2 separate regions of the Homo sapiens genome follow, and region 1 is linked to region 2. Evidence: promoter capture Hi-C in 16 types of primary human blood cells and fetal thymus (Javierre and others, 2016). All regions are on one chromosome and are shown on one strand. The core of a region is centred on a gene start or on the middle of the fragment in contact, and the rest is flanking DNA. Distances in the headings are between cores, read along the strand shown.

What was found. The method cuts DNA at HindIII sites, captures the fragments that hold promoters and counts their contacts. A CHiCAGO score of 5 or more calls a contact.
Region 1: a fragment that was not itself captured here is called in contact with the fragment with the promoter of VSTM5 in region 2 in 1 of 17 cell types (naive B cells); the score reaches 5.1 in naive B cells.

What each region holds. Positions count from the first base shown.
Region 1 is chr11:94,442,785-94,448,118 of GRCh38, forward strand. MRE11 (MRE11 double strand break repair nuclease) reads right to left here. Exons shown (of 20, transcript NM_005591.4): 15 at 4,435-4,654; 16 at 3,026-3,109. Among named protein-coding and RNA genes, the nearest start is that of MIR548L, 21 kb to the right of the region's middle. The HindIII fragment of the contact is 1,345 bases long and covers 2,843-4,187 here.
Region 2 is chr11:93,846,888-93,852,219 of GRCh38, forward strand. VSTM5 (V-set and transmembrane domain containing 5) reads right to left here and starts at 3,731. Exons shown (of 4, transcript NM_001144871.2): 1 at 3,525-3,731. The coding sequence starts at 3,615. The HindIII fragment of the contact is 13,893 bases long and covers 1,318-5,332 here.

The sequences.
Region 1 (5,334 bases), core at 2,265-4,764, 600 kb after region 2:
TCAAGTCACAAAGCTGTCATTTGTTGAATGCAAGGTTGAACTCAGCATGAATCCTTTACAATTTTCCAGGCTGCCTTTTCTCTCTTTCTTCCTCTCTGCTTTTATATTAAACCTACCAAGAATGGAACAGCATCTTTCCAGATACCACTCCCTAAATGGCAATAAAGACAACATGTTTGTGAAGCAAAAAGCTAAGGATCTTAGCTAGCTCTTCTGAAGTACTAAATAATACTTGAGTAAAAATATAGCAATGGAATTTTTTGTAAGGTTTAAGAGTCATTTAATCAACCTGATTTTGTATCTTTTCTTCAATGTCAGCTGTCATTTGATAAATGTTGAAAATTCCTTTAATGGAGTGATACTTACTTCCAAGGCAAATTAGTCCATCTTTATATTAATTACATAGGTTATTCTGCATAATGCAAAAATTATTCTATGGAGAACTAGTAGCTAGGTCTCTAATCTTACCTTGCTCTGGAAACTAGTACAGTGGTCAACTACTGGTTGTAGAGTGCAGAGAATGTGAGATCATTCCCAGATCTGGTACTGACAAGTTATGAGATCTAGGATAAGCTACCTATCTTTTTAAAGCCTGTTTCCTTTTCTGTAAAACAGAAATAATATAGTAAGTACCTACCCCACAGACCTGTTAAGAGGCATGCAGTTTCATAAATATTAGCTATTATTGCTACTATTAGTGGTTTTATCAACTCAGGGCAAAACTGCTTGGCTTAGTTCCCTCACATATAAAACAGGGGAACAAAGTTGTTCTTAAATCTTCCAGGTCCATTCTATCAGATGAGAAACTTAAATCAGTATGTTTCTAGCTATTCCCATCCATCCCCATTGGGCCAGGAGTTCTTAAGCTGGAAAACACGAATGCGCCTCATGGGAGTGGCTGAACCCTTTGAAATTGGGTGCAATTGCATGTGAGTACTTATTTAAGGAGAGAAGACATAGCTTTCATCAGATTTTTAGAGAATCCATAAGCCAAAATAGATTAAAAAGCATTGCCTTTGGGACTAAACAGATCAAATCTATTCATTCCACATTTTACACGATAGAACATAATCTACATAAAGATCTGAATGTTTCCCAGGTTAGATATCCTAAATCCTAAGTTCCTTCAACCAATTTTTTTTTTTTTTTTTTTTTGGAGACGCTCCGTCACCCAGTTCAGTGGCATGATCTCGGCTCACTGCAACCTCCACCTTCTCGGTTCAAGTATTCTCCTGCCTCAGCCTCCCAAGTAGCTGGGACTACAGGTGCACGCCGCCCTGCCTGGATAATTTTTTGTATTTTCAGTAGGGGACAGGGTTTCACCTTGTTGCCCAGACTGGTTTCGATCTCCTGAGCTCAGGCAATCCGCCCGCCTCAGCCTCCCAAAGTGGTAGGATTATAGGCATGAGCCACTGCGCCTGGCCAACCATTTTTTATATTATTTGGTATCTCTTCTGAATGATCATATATAGTTGACAGTCTCCTTGAAATATAATTCCAAAGAGGAGTACAGTATCCTTGGCATGTTATGGCCAATTTAGTACACAGAGAGAACTTCCTTGCTGTGCAAGCTTGTCCAACCCACCTCATTTTGTTATTGTTTTTGTTCTGTTTTCGTTCTGTTTTCTTTTGTTTTAGGCTTTTAGCAGCTGAAGCCATGGTTTTTAGTTTCTGTCGCTAGTGATATGAGGAAAAGAAGGATGAGAAAAGGGCTTTACTGGCCCAACCAGAAACAGAAACTAAGAATCCATGACTGTATTCTCTCCCTTGGACACCTCTGCAAGACTCATTAAATGCTGTTTAAAATATCAATAGATTTGGACAGTTGGGTATGCCTGCATAACTCTTACTGACCTAAGTCTTTTTCACCTGGGTTGCTGTTAAACTCACATACCTCTCACAACTCTACTTGTGCAGCTGTCCTTTTGGACATAAATGTGGTTTATATTACCCTTGATAAACTTCATCTTCTGAGAATTAGTTCAGCTCCCCAGTGTGTCAACAATTAATCCTAGCTATAAGATTATAAATATTACAATTATAATATTTAAAAAATATTTATAATTATAAAAGTGAAACAATAACCTCAAATAACTGATAATATAAATAATATACATATGAATATATTCTAAATGCTAGGTAGAAAAAAGTATCACCACCTATCTTAATGCATACTTTTTGTAAATATGACTAACATTTTAGGCTGATCTCATCATCTATAATATTAAAAATAGTTAAACAGATCCCCTTGAGGCCAATTTTTAGACCATAGGATATACACAAATTAATTCCAAGGGCCTAGCCATAATTTCTCTTAAATATAGGTCACATGACTTCTCTATATGGAAAGCAGAGACTGACAGGGCAGTATGGGGGAAGCAAGGAAACAGTAGAGACAGTTCCTCTCTCTTTCGACCACTGTCCATATAGTGACCAACTACTTCACTTTCCTGTTTCCAGGGTCTCTCTGCCAAACAGAAACAGCATTTGTCTGAAAGTAAGAAATTATAAAACATAATTTTTGTTTTGTTTTGTTTTGTTTTTGAGACGGAGTCTCTCTCTGTTGCTAGGGTAGAGTCCAATGGCATGATCTTGGCTCACTGCAACCTCCAGTTCCTGGGTTCAAGTGATTCTCCTGCCTCAGCCTCCCAAGTAGCTGGGACTACAGGCATGTGCCACCACGCCTGGCTGATTTTTGTATTTTTAGTAGAGACCGGGTTTCACCATGTTGGCCAGGCTGGTCTCGATCTCCTGACCTCGTGATCTGCCTGTCTCGGCCTCCCAAAGTGCTGGGATTACAGGTGTGATCCACTGTGCCTGGCCTATAAAACATGATTTTAAAAGCTTACCCTCTTCAGTAACTCTAATGCATAGCAAAGATCTTTTAAAAAATAATTTATCCTGTGATCCTAATTGCCCTTATAACTTCCCAATGATTGCAACACAAATAAGGGCTACCAATGGTGATTACCTTGGTCTTTCTAATGTTGGAATTTATAAATAATCACTTGCAGTCTATACTCACCATCTATAATAGACATATTTCTAGATGCTGACACAGCAGTCTTTGAGTTCCTGCTACGGGTAGAAGTCTCCAGACCAGTGTCTGCTGTTAGAAAAATGAACAGTCAATGTACAAGCCTATCAGCAGCTAAGGTTTATTTCATACAACACTAAAAAATGAAAGCTAAATAAACTTATGTCAAATAGTTTGTCTGTAAAAAGCCAGACATATATATAAGAACAAACATCTAGAGTCTGACCAATTTTCAGAGACTATTCTTTTAGGCCACACTTCAGTTTATCCAATTTAATTTATCCAATTAAAATGTAAGGAAATAGGCTGGACGTGGTAGCTCACGCCTGTAATCCCAGCACTTTGGGAGACAGAGGCGGGAGGATCACTTGAGGTCAAGAGTTCAAGACTAGCCTGGCCAACATGGTGAAACCCCACCTCTACTAAAAATACAAAAATTAACTGGCATGATGATGGGCCCCTGTAATCCCAGCTACCTGGGAGGCTGAGGCAGGAGAATTGCTTGAACCTGGGAGGCGGAAGTTGCAGTGAGCTGAAATCGCACCATTGCACTCCAGCCTGGGCAACAGAGCAAAGACAAGACTCCATCTCAAGAAAAATTAAAAAACAAAAATAAAAATTTTTAAGGAAAAATTTTGTAAATGTAAGAATAGTGAAAATAATCATCATTAAAAGATGAGGATTTCTCTCCCTGGAGATTTTAAACCAAATTAATATTCATTTCACCAGCTTAAAATTCCTATGGATGCATATTTAATAAAAACAATTTTAAAAAATCTTTAGAGATGAACTGACATAATGTGTGAGAAAGTCACTGAGTGACCAATTTCTATTGGCGTGAACTATTCAATGACAATAGTCTCACAGTAAATACAATGTTGACTATGTTAATGACTAGTTTTAGGAATCAAATTGGGGGGCAGTTTTCTTTCTTAAACTGACTTTATAAAGACTACTTGATAAGCATATGTGTATTTGTATCTTATGACAGTAACAAAAATAATAATTGTATGATCTGGAGTTTTCCTCCTGTTGCCAAAGGCTTTTAGCTATTTTCTTTAACAACTCATATTTGCCTATTACTTTGCACATGTGAAAATACATATGACATTAAATGTATCCAAAAGGTACTACGTGACAAACACAGTGAAGCTTTTATAAGGTATGTGCTAAGAACAATTAAAACCCTAAGTGCATGTGGCCATTCAAAATTTATTTAAGTAAAAGGCACATGTCAGAACTGCCTTAAAGACTGTCTTTATATATTATAAAAATAGATTTTTAAAGAACCGTGTTTTAGAAATAAAACTTATAATTCAACTCTGACAAGATCTAATTCTGTATTTTCCACTCAACTGCCAAGTGTGAATGTGCACAGGACTGAACTCAGTGCTCACCTCTTCCTCTTTGAGACCCTCCTCTCGATGCTGAATTCTGCCCTCTTCCACCTCTTCGACCTCTTCCTCGGCCTCTTCCTTTGTTGGTTGCTGCTGAGATGCTATCATCAGAGTCATTAGCCATCTGTTCTGCTAAATCTATACTCATAAGGTCATCAGCACTAAAGGCAGAAGCAGACTCCTCTGACTGAGATCTGAGTGCTCTGGCCCTGGTCATAGCCTAAGAGGGAGAAGAAGGAGAAAGTACACACAATGAGATAACGTACCATCCTAAAAATCATTAATTTAGGCATTGACATGAACTAATCATACTATAAAAACATAAAGGAGGCTGACACAGTGGCTCACGCCTGTAATCTCAGCACTTTGGGAGGCCGAGGCGGGAGGATCACTTGCACCCAAGAGTTTGAGACAAGCCTGGGCAACACAGCGAAACCCCGTCTCTACAAAAAAAAAAAAAAAAAAAAAAAATTAGGCATGGTGGCATGCACCTGTAGTCCCGAGCTACACAGGAGGCTGAGGCAGGAGGATCACTTGAGCCTAGGAGATACAGGCTGCAGTGAGCTATGATCACACCACTGCACTCCAGCCTGGGTGACAAAGAGAGACCCTGTCTCAAAAATAAAAATAAAAACAAAAAATATTTATATATGTGTAAAGGAGAACCTCCCCACCAATCAAATTTAATACTTATTATCTGTCAGACCAATCTACCATACTACCTATAAAATGAGACCCTTTGAAAAGGTTTACCAAGAAAAATAAAATTTTACAGAATCAAAATTTTCAGAACTAGAAGGAATACTGGCAATCATCCCTAATTCAATGCCACATTTGACAGTAACAGACTGTCATCATTTGAGCTACTTTTTAGAATCGGCTCCTAGGAAATAATAAGAA
Region 2 (5,332 bases), core at 2,481-4,980:
TCCCAAGTAGCTGAGACTACAGGCGCCTGCCACCACGCCCGGCTAATTTTTGTATTTTTAGTAGAGACGGGGTTTCACTGTGTTGGCCAGGATGGTCTCGATCTCTTGACCTTGTGATCCGCCCGGCTCGGCCTCCCAAAGTGCTGGGATTACAGGCATGAGCCACCATACCTGGCCCCATGATTGCATTTTTTAAAAGTACATTGGAAACTCACTTTTTTTCCAGTGGGTACATTTGTATGTATGCAAAAATATTTTTTATAAATCTGAAAGGACAGTGCAGAGTGAGACCACACCTCATGTGTCTCTGTTTGATCAGGGATCAGTGCACGGCCCACGGCAACATAGTAGGTGCTTCTAAGATGTTTGCCACATGGATGGCAGCGTTGGGCAGCTGCTGAGGACTTATGGAGTGATGGACCCAGAGTCTCGTGAAGGGCCTTGAGAGGATTCCTTCTATACTGGCTCCCTCCTCATCCCATCCGCCCCCACCTTCCACTAAGCCCAGAACCCACAGCTCCATTCTGGCTGTGGCATCCCTGGGTCTGTCCACTCCCTCCTCAGCTTCAGATTCAGCCCTAGCCCTGTTCCTCTATTTTTCTGAGGACTGGCCCCAGTGTGTATATGTGTGTGTGTTGGGGGAGCTGACTGTTACTTAGAAACTGGGATTGGAAAAAAGCAAGTTGATTCTGGCCCAGGCCATTAACTAAACTATCCTACTATAGTCTTGGATCAAGTACTTCCGAATGAGAGGGAGCACTGGGTGGGTACTCGTGAGCCTGATGGCTAATGTACTGGGAAAGGACATGAACAAATGTTCTAGAAAGGTGCCTGGTCTGGTGGGGAGGCCTGCCAGCTTTCCGAGCCCATAAGTCCTTGTCCTAGTCAGCTTGGGCTGCTGTAACAGATGACCATAGACTGATGTGGCTTAAACCACAGTTATTTCTCACAGTTCTGGAGAGGCTGGGAAGCTCAAGATCAAGGTGCCAGTTTTTGGTGAGGGCCTTCTTCCTGGCTTGCTAATATGCATTTTCTTGCTGTGTCCTCACACAGCTGGGAGGGAGAGCTCTGGTCTCTCTTCCTCTTCTTATAAGGACACTAATCCCATTATGGGATCCCACCTCAAGACCTCATCTAAACCAAATCACCTCCCTAAATCCCCTCCTCCAAATACCATCACATTGGAGGTTAGGGCTTGAATATATGAATCTTGGGAGGACCCATACATTTGTAGGGGAAAGGTTTCAAAAGCAGGGTGTTTGGCATGCTTTAACTCAGACTTCAGGGTAAATAGTGAATATCAGAGGTTCTGGATGAAGCTTTTGACACAGGCAGAAGAGGTAGAGCATGCAGGGAACTGGTAGGAAGGAGGAGGCCTACTCTTCATCATTATGACTGGCTCCAAAGCACAGGCTTCATTCAGGCAGGCACACATTCATTTAACGTCTTTTAAGGGCGCAGGCCCTGGCTAGCACTGGGCAAGTGCTAGGGACCCTGAGTTGAAACAGAGTGCTTGCCCTCCTGGAGCTTACTGCTGTCCATGAGACAGGTCTCAATGGAAAACTGCAAACTTTTACCTGGCCTCCAGGTTTTGCATGTGCCATTTTGTCTGGTACACCCTGCATTCCCTTTGTCCTGTCCCCCGAGCTGCTCCTACCCATCTGGCAGGTATGGGCAGGTGGGGCTGTTTTGGGGAAGTTTCCTCAAGTCTGGATTCTGAGACGCTAGGGCTTCTAGAACATGGCACCTCTTGCCTCTCAAGGCTTGCCATTGCAAGGCTGCCCCTCTTGTTTGCATGTCTGTCTTCTCCATGACACCTGAGCTTCCTGAGAACGAAACAGTGAACCACCATATCCTAGGTACCCACTGTGGCCTGCTTCCTGCAGGGAGAGGGTACAGTCAATGAGTGAGTGAATGAATGAATTATACGCTATTGCAAATGGCTGGTCCCTGAGCATGAGGGGTATCTGAACAGATGTGTAAGTATGGTGATTAGAAACAAGTGATAAAGGTTTGAGAAATAATATAAAAAGCCACTGCAATGACAAACACACCCATCCACCTGCTCGAGACTAACAACCAACTGTTTTCTTGATCCATAGCTGCCAGAGGAACATGCCTCTGTCTTACTGGGTTTCTGAGATTTGCAACCTCTGCAGCTGGGTTCTAGCCAGAGAGGTGTAAAGGTCAAAAATGTTAGATCGTTCAGTCACCTTGTATAAGTTAACATAATATTATTTTTTCTCTCTCTCTCTTCTTTTCTTTTTCTTTCGCTTTGGAGAAGGTCTCATTCTGTTCCCCAGGCTAGAGTGCAGTGGCACAATCAGGGCTCACTGAAGCCTCAATCTCCTGGGCTTAAGTGATCCTTTCACCTCAGCTCCCCCGCCGCCCACCCCAGTAGCTGGGCCTACAGGCACAGGCCACCACACCCAGCTAATTTTTTCATATTTTTACTACAGACAGTTTGCCATGTTGCCCAGGCTGGTCTTGAACTCCTGGACTCAAGGGATCCGCTGGCCTCGGCCTCCCAAAATGCTGGGAATACAGGCATGAGCCCCTGCGATTGGCTTATAACATTTCTGTGCCTCAGTTTCCTCACTTGTGAAACAGGAATAAGAGTAGTTTATTAGGGTTGCCCTAAGGACTAAATGAGAGAGGTCTTGTAAAGTCTGAGGGATGGTGAATGCATAAATGCTTAATAAGTGCTGGCTCTTACTACAAGGCCTCTCACCTCCAGCGGCCCTGCTCTGTCATTCTCTAAACCTCAGTTGGCCCATGTGTAAGATGGGAGTGCGAATGGTAATGATTAAATGAGAAAGTAAAACTGTGCTAAGATCTGTTGTTTGTGTCCAAGAGAGCCTCTGGGACTACGCTTCGCATCCAGGCTCACCAGGCTGGGGATTCCGGGTCCGGCCATCCAAAGCAAATCTACTCAGTGCGCTGGTCGCGAGGACCACCTCCAGCCTGGGGACTTCAGGCCACAACGCCCAACCCAAACCCCAGAACCGTTTTTCTCACGGGAGCAGGCTGCTGTGGGTTCGTCTGACTGATAAGGAGGCCTGATTATTCTCCTGGGAGATGACCAGGAAGGCCATGGAGGGGTCCCCACAGTAGGGGGCGGCGCACGGACTGCAATCTGGTTATTCCAGGAAAAAGAAATAAAAAATGTTGCAGAGGCGGCGGCCACAGGGCTGGGAGCCGGTTATCTCTGGGCCACCTTCCAGCTCTGATAACCGTAGGCCGGGCTCGCCGGGTGGGGCGGGCGCCCCGAAGTGGGCCGGGGCGCCGCGGCCGGTAGCCTCTGCTTTGCCCAGCCCCTCCCGCTACGGTCGGCGCCGGGTCTCCAGGCCTCGCCCAGCCCCACGAGGAAGCGGCGCGGTGCCTGCCAGCCGAGCTCACCGCGCGCCCTCAGCCGGACAAGGTGGGCGAGGGCCAGGGGGGCCGCTGCTAGACCCCGGGGCCCCGCCCGTGCCCCCCTACCCATTCCCGCTCCCCCAGCACCCGGGGCGTCCCCCGGAGCTTACTCTGCAGACAGCGGGCTGCGGCCAGGCAGAGGGCGAAGAGTCCTAGGGAGATGCCTCGGGTCTTCCTCCTCCCGCTGGGCAGAGGCCTCATGGGCGAGCCCGGGGCCTCGCGGGCCGGGGTGTGTGCTGGCCGCACCGCGCTGCAGCTCCTATGCAGCCTTCTCTCTTCCTCCGCCTCTGGCTGCCGCAGGTTCTTTAGGGCCAGATGCAGATGAGCTGGTTGTACTCTGGTTGAACCAGTTCCCAAGGATGGGGGGGCGGGGGGGGGGGGGTGTTGCGCGGGAGAGAATTAATATGGGAAGGAATGGGAATGCACAGACTCAGAGGTAAATAATGGCAAATAATGAGCAGCCTCCTTCCGTTCACACCCATTTTACTGGTATTGATTCAAGGTTCGGCTGGATGCTAGGTGGCAGGAAGGAGGGAAAGTACTAGCTATTGCTTCAGGACAGAGCTAGTCATTGGCATCATGGGCAAAGGGAAGGCTTTTAGGAAAGTGAAATGACAGCCTGGAGTGAGAGGGATGAGGGGAGGGGGTGGGGAGACTCAGGCTGCCCTGATGGGAACCACTGCACAGTGATGATATCCATCCATCTATCCACCCATCAGTCCATCCATCCATCCCTCCATCCATCCAGGAAATGTTCACCAATCGCCTGCTTTATTTGCACAGAGCCTCGCACATGGCAGTCACTCAAATAAACCGGTGGAATGAAGCTAGGCACTGTGTTAAGTGCTGGGGATACAAGGATGTGGGCACCTGTTTAGAAATCCTAGCAAGGGGTGGGGGCTGCAAAAAATGAGCAACCGCTAGGCCGAGGCGGGCGGATCACGAGTTCAGGAGATCGAGACCATCTTGGCTAACACAGTGAAACCCCGTCTCTACTAAAAATACAAAAAAAAAAATTAGCCGGGCGTGGTGGTGGGTGCGTGTAGTCCTAGCTGCTCGGGAGGCTGAGGCAGGAGAATGGCGTGAACCCGGGAGGCAGAGCTTGCAGTGAGCCGAGATAGCGCCACTGCACTGCAGCCTGGGCGACAGAGGGGGACTCCGTCTCAAAAAAAAAAAAAAAAAAAAAAGCAACCGCTGTACAGTGCATATGTCGCTAGGATCAGAGAGGCCCAGCATGCTCTGGGGGCTCAGAGCAAGTGTAATTAGTCTCCAGGAGAGGTCGATGGAGGGGTGGGGCAATCAGTTTTGGTCCAAACTAGTCATGAAATTATATTTCACTTTGTCAAAACTAGAATTTCTAGCCTCACTTGCCACAAGGGGTAGCAGTGTGACCCAGTGCTGGCCAGTGATATTTAAGGGGAAGTCTTTTTGAGGTGTTTCTGGAAAAGTTTTTGCTTTCCTCATAAAAAGGACAGCTAAGGCTGGGACTTCCCCTCCCCCTTTCTTTCTGCCTTGAAAACATTTATTCTGTTCAGATCTGTGGCATGTGTCTTGCATCCATTAAGTTACATAAATGAATGCAAAAACCATCATGCTAAGTAAGGATGGTGGAGCAGGAAGATAGAAAGACCTAGAAGGGCCGGGTGTGATGGCTCACACCTGTGATCCCAGCACTTTGGGAGGCCGAGGCAGGTGGATTGCATGAGCCCAGGAGTTTGAGGCCAGCCTGGACAACATACTGAGACCCCATCTCTACAAAAAAAATATAAAAATTAGCCTGGGCATGGTGGCCCACGTCTGTAGTACTAGCTACTTGGGAGGCTGAGGCAGGAAGATCACTAGAGCCCAGGAGGCAGAGGTTGTAGTAAGCCATGAATGTACCACTGCACTCCAGCCTGGGTGACAGAATGAGACCCTG